Regions from separate parts of the Homo sapiens genome. Here region 2 is linked to region 1. The links are contacts of gene promoters, found by promoter capture Hi-C in blood cells and fetal thymus (Javierre and others, 2016). All regions are on one chromosome and are shown on one strand. The core of a region is centred on a gene start or on the middle of the fragment in contact, and the rest is flanking DNA. Distances in the headings are between cores, read along the strand shown. Region 1 holds the start of TGM5 (transglutaminase 5). Region 2 overlaps STARD9 (StAR related lipid transfer domain containing 9).

What was found. Contacts are between HindIII fragments. The CHiCAGO score rates a contact against its expected background, and 5 or more counts as called.
Region 2: a contact is called between a fragment that was not itself captured here and the fragment with the promoter of TGM5 in region 1, in 1 of 17 cell types (activated CD4 T cells). The highest score is 5.2, in activated CD4 T cells.

What each region holds. Positions count from the first base shown.
Region 1 is chr15:43,265,672-43,268,516 of GRCh38, reverse strand. It overlaps TGM5 (transglutaminase 5), which reads left to right and starts at 1,589. Exons shown (of 13, transcript NM_201631.4): 1 at 1,589-1,677. The coding sequence starts at 1,668. It also overlaps the pseudogene ATP5PDP1. The HindIII fragment of the contact is 1,714 bases long and covers 545-2,258 here.
Region 2 is chr15:42,693,341-42,696,235 of GRCh38, reverse strand. STARD9 (StAR related lipid transfer domain containing 9) reads right to left here. Exons shown (of 33, transcript NM_020759.3): 23 at 1,894-2,895; 24 at 1,511-1,708; 25 at 913-1,096; 26 at 356-493. Among named protein-coding and RNA genes, the nearest start is that of CDAN1, 42 kb to the left of the region's middle. The HindIII fragment of the contact is 2,958 bases long and covers 1-2,860 here.

The DNA of each region.
Region 1 (2,845 bases), core at 340-2,839:
AGCTGGGGATGAGAGTTGAAGGTGGATGTGCTGTGTTAAAATAGTGAACTGCATTTGTGCACATATACCCTATAAGAGGTGAGTGGGGTGTGGGCCATGGGCTGCCATGGTCAGTGAAGTATACCAAGATGGCTGGGTGAAAACTTGCTCTAAAAACCATTGACTGGGTAGCTTTTGCAGAGATGATACCCCAAAACCAAAAGGCCATTGCTAATTATCTGAAATCCTGGAATGAGACCCTCACCTCCAGGCTGGCTACTTTACCTGAGAATCCACCAGCTATTGACTGGACTTACTACAAGGCCAATGTGGCCAAGGCAGGCTTGGTGGATGACTTTGAGAAGAAGTTTAATGTCCTGAAGCTTCCTGTACCAGAGGATAAATATACTGCCCAGGTGGATGCTGAAGAAAAAGAAGATGGGAAAACTTGTGCTGAGTGGGTGTCTCTCTCAAAGGCCAGGTTGGAGAATATGAGAAACAGCTGGAGAAGATGAGGAACTTAATACCATTTGATCAGATGACCATTGACGACTTGAACGAAGCTTTCCCGGAAACCAAATTAGACAAGAAAAAGTATCGCTATTGGTCTCACCAACCAATCAAGAATTTATAAAATTAAGTCCAGGAAGAAGCCCTGGCCCTTATAGTACACATTCTGGACATTAAAAATAAAAATAATTACATAGGTTTTAAAAAAGAGCTGAGTGGGGACAGAGAGAATTGAAAATACAGGAGGGAGGACAATGCTGGTGAAAGAGGTTCCCCAGGGAGAAGGACCCAGAAAGCAGGGGATGTGGGGAGAAGTGCCCCAGAGCACAGAAAGACAGGGTAGGCATGGGGGTCCCACCCACTCCACAGGCAGAGCCCTTCCCCCTCCTGCCCTCTCTCTCCTTCCACCTGCGCTTTTCTCCCTATGAAAGGGCTTGTGCCTTTCTTACTAGGATCAAGGCCCTTGCTCACCGGCATTCCCACCCTCTCACCTATTTCCACACCTCCTCCACAAATCTTCCCAATTTTTCTTCCTCTATTTTATTTGTGATTATTTGCTTTTATTTGTGATTTGTCTTGGACCTGCCAGGTCTCATGCAAGACAATGCCACTGCCAAAGCTAAATACAGTGAAATCATACCGAAGGAGATCCAGACAGAGAGGGTTCTGTTTGCATTTAATGTTCAGGAAGTGACTTTTCAGGATAAAAGAGAGGCCTTGGTTACCTAGCAGGGTTCTCGGCTCAATGAGGTGCTTTAAGCTGTGAGCAGAGTCTTGGGACCCTGATGCTCCTTCCAGCAGCCCCCTGCATCCCTCTGGCGGGCCCATCAGCTCGCTTCTCCCTCCTGACTTCTCCACCACAGCACAGCACCTCCCTGGGAATGCCCTATTGCTCAAGAGCTATCAAAGGCCCACACGGCATAAGGCTGTGACAGTTCATCAGCCTCCACACCTCCTTTCAATTCAGCAACACTGCCAAGAAAAACCTGAGGGCAAGTGAGCAAACCAGTTGTGATCTGCTCGGTAATCAGGTGGCAGTGCAGCAGTCCAGCCCCGCCTTCGGTTCTCCTGGAGGCTTCCAATGGAAGGGGAAGTAGACACTCTGGCACCAGTTTGCTGAAGCTCCAGACCGCCCAGCTGTTCTGTGGGGAGCATCCCAGGAACCGGAGGCAGCTACCATGGCCCAAGGTAGGGAAAGCCCCTGTGGCCACTGGAGTTCAGGGATAAGAAGGACAGAGAGAGACTGTAGGAAGTCAAGGGGTGGAGGGTGGATTCAGAGAAATAAAGAAGTAAATACAGAACTGAGGCAGGAAAAGCAAGAATCCCAGAAACCTCAGTATTCATTGGTGGCTTGAGAACCAGGAGACAGCGTAGAGGCAGACAGGTAAACACAGCACACAGCTGCTTGCTAACATGCCTGCCTCCATAGCCAGGTGGGACAGGGCAGGGCCAGAGATGAGGGGGTCAGGGTTTCTGTCCTTCTCTGCTACTAGCTGACCCTTTGACATTGGACAAGTCACTTCGCCTCTAGTTTCCAACCCCCTTGCCTGAAAAAGGAGGGATTGGACCAGACAATCTTGAAATTGTCTTCCAGCTCTTAAGTTCTCTGAATCTTCATATCTTCTCTTCTTCCTCCATTTCAGAAGGTCTATTACTGATCTTAGCTAATCTTCCCATCACCAACCTTCTCTCTATATCATCCCCCTCACTCTGGAAAGAGTTGCTGTGAAGATTAAATCGTTAGTTGAAATCATTTAGAGGAATAAGCTTTCAACTTCCTCTACAACTGTAACAACCTTACCTTTATTTATTACTTTTTGTGTTTAAATTTTTGTTTTAAAATTTTCATAACTTTTAATTGCACAAGAAATATGGGAATACATAGTTGGAGTAAAATAAATAAATAATTATAGATAAAGCTATAGTCCTCTGCCCGCCATCCCCAATGGCAGCCTCATCTCCAGAGTAAACACTGTTACCTGTCTTTTGTCTGCACATTTACACTCAGACATACATTTACTCAATGTAATACATAGGATTAGCATGTGTGGTCTTTTTTGGTATATCCATGGTATCATCATATTGTATGTATATTTCTACAACTTGATTTTTTTCACTCCACAGTATGTCTGGGAGCTCTGTCCATGCCAGTCAGTACCTATAGATCTACCTCAATATTTCTCATAGTATCAGTGCAAGTAATTTCTAATCCTGTCCCCTATTGATGGGCATTTAGGTTGTTTTCAATTTTCCGGTTACACAAGCAATATTGCAAGGAACATACTTATCCATGCCTCTGTGTGCTCACGTGGGAGTGTCTCTCTAGGATAACTACTAAGATCACTTACTTTAAAAG
Region 2 (2,895 bases), core at 132-2,631, 570 kb after region 1:
TTTATGCTGGTTTAGCAACCCGCCTTCAAACAATTTACTGCAACAATAACTAAACAATAAAATCAGTTGTTTAATATTTATCCCTCAAACAGTCTAAGGACAAGAACAGTTTTGCTCACCGCTGTATCCTAAAATAATACCCACAGAATAAACATTTGTTGAATGAATGAACAGAAGGAGCAGGGGGCAGAACTAAATGGAAAACCAAAGGCCTGCACATAAGAAGGGCTCATGTCAGCAGTGGCCTCCAGGAGGCACGGCGTCTTGCCCAAACTCCAGGAGGCACAGCGTCCTGCTCAAACTCTTGCCTTGGCAGTCCAGGCCCCTGGCTCATTCCCAACATCTGCCTACTCACCATATTCTCTGGGAACTGGAGCTGGCCTGACAAGGCTGGGCTGCTATTATAGCCAGAGGTCATGCCAGACGAGAGGCTTCCATTAGAGCTGGTGCACAGGGAGCTGGAATTGGCCAAGGTATGTAGTTTATCCTCTTCCTGGGAAGGACAAATCACCATTAACCAGCTTCTGATGCACCCTCACTTTCCCCAGGCCACGCCTTTTCCTACCCAAAGCCACCCCTTCCCTGCTCACCTCTACTGCTCCTTCACCCACCTCCCAGGGCCTCCCTGACTTAGCCTCACATGCCCTGGCTTCCTTAAAGCCACCACTGCTCGTATTTCCCCACACCCTGCACCTCACACCAAAGCCTCTTCCTCCCAGGCCGTGGCCTGGGGAAAGGAGCTGGTGTGATGATGTAAAAAGACAGTGAGCCCAGCTTTGAGTTGACAACAGGGGTCCCACAGCCTCCTCCAAATGTTACGTATGTCCCAAGACTCAGAGGCGGCCACGGTGAAGGTGTACCAGTCTGAGGTCCAGGCCTATCCTGAAATCAGAGGCATGCCCCACTCCACACCTTCAATAGCTGGGAAATGATCTTCTGGTGGATTCTCAGCTTCTCTTGTTCAGTCCGCTCCCGCAGTTGGTCTCGGGCCCGGGCAATCTCCACCTTGGCCTCCTCATGGGCCTGCTGGTAGTCTTGCAGCATCAACTCTATGTCAGAGGGTGTGTGAGCTGACCTTGACACTGACTCTGGGCTCCTGAGGAAGATCACGGGGTGGAAAGAACATGGTGGGTGGGTGACAGTCCTGGTCTGTCCATCCAAGGCTAGCTTGGGTGATACCACCTTCTTAAAAGACCCAACCTCCATTTGCCCACAGGGTTTTAAAGTATGATTTTTTAGCCTCAGGAGAGGTTGCTGGACAGAGAGAACCAAGCCACCTTGAGACCCAGGCCTGCAGACTTGCATAGCATGTCAGAGCCCTTCTGTCCATCATTTCCTGTGCCTTCTCTCTGCCCACCCCCTCCCTCATTCCATTCCCTTCTATGTCCTCTTTCCATTTACCCTGTCTCCTATAGAGAACCCTCCAGGATGCTAAAACTTCAGCTCCTGCTCCCCATACTCCCCTCCCCCAACAGAGCCTGCTCCCAGCAGGGTTCTCGGTCCACACTACCTGGTGGTCTCCACAACATCCTTCCTCAGTTGCTGCAGGTATTCTCGGCGTCTGCTGGGCAAGTCAAGATCCCAGATGAAGAGATCTTTGTTGGGCAGGAGGCTCAGTTGTTTCTGAGGGCTAAGGCTTCGCGTCCGGCAGAAGTTCCCAAGTCGCTCAGCCCGCTCTCTCCTGAGGGTCTCAATGGCCTTTTTTTGCCTGAGGCAAAACACGATTCGCTGAAGCTGGCCCTGAATGTCCTTCACTTTAAGATCTATCTCTGACCCCTGGAAGATCCCAGAGATGAACCAGGGCAGAGGAAACAGCAAGCTATTAGCTTTCTTGGGTTCTCTTTCCTCACAGCCCACCCCTTCCCCTCCCGACTCCAGGCTGGGGGTCCTTACCGTGCATAGAGCTCCTTCCAGGTGGATGTCACAGGTTCATCAGCAGCAAGCGCCTCCCCTGTCCCACTCTGCAGCACCTGGAGCAGGGCATCGGCCTCCCCAAAGCCATGGTGCAGTTTCGCTTCTGTGAGTTCCACGCTGAGTGAGAGGTTCTGGGCCCCAACTTGCAGGGGGATCTGCTCCCTCTTGGACCACTCAGAATCCTGGCTGTGGTCATTAGGAGGTTGTGGGGGACTCTGTTCCTGCTTTTCAGAGCTGAGATCACCGCTGGCCCCCAGCTCCTCCTCAGTCATGTCCAACCCCCCAGGTGAGCCCTTCTGAACCCCACACCAGTTACTAAATTTGTTATGCACCGGGAGGTCCCTCAGACTGTGGTGCTGGTGCTCAGGGGCCATGCACATCTGGCAACTGAAGCACAGTAACTCCTCAGGTTGGCAGGCCTGAGGGAGGCCCAAGGCAGAACCTCGGAGCCCTGCAGTATCAGTCAACTCAGAGACAGGGCAGGGGCTGAGGTGCTGGAGGCCTCCCCATGAAGAAGGTCGGTCCAGAGTGCGTTGTGGTTCCCCTGGAGATGCTGAACTCTCACCTCCATTTTCTGTCCTGCTCTGCCACTGACTTGGCTCCCTACCGCTCAGTGGGCAATGCTCCGGGGAAGCCACCTTCTCAGGCACAAAGCTGTTGCCCAGCCTTTGGCTCCTGTGCCTCAGTGGTGGTGGCAGCAGTCTGCTTTGGACCCCGATAGTTGTCCTGGGCTGAAGCTGCTGAGGGTGCTGCCCTAAGAAACTAAATTGGAGTTTTGGACTCTGCTGTGGGCTGTGTGGGGAGTGCAACTCAAGGAAGGATCTCCCATTACTCCTTTGTAAGGAACTTCTACCTCTCTGGGAGCCACCTAACTCGTCAGTGGTTTGGGAATAATTATCCATTGGAGTCCTTGGGGCATCAACAGGGTCTGGGCTGGAGTCAAGCTTCTGGTGGCCTTCAACAGGGTGAGTTGAAGGGGCT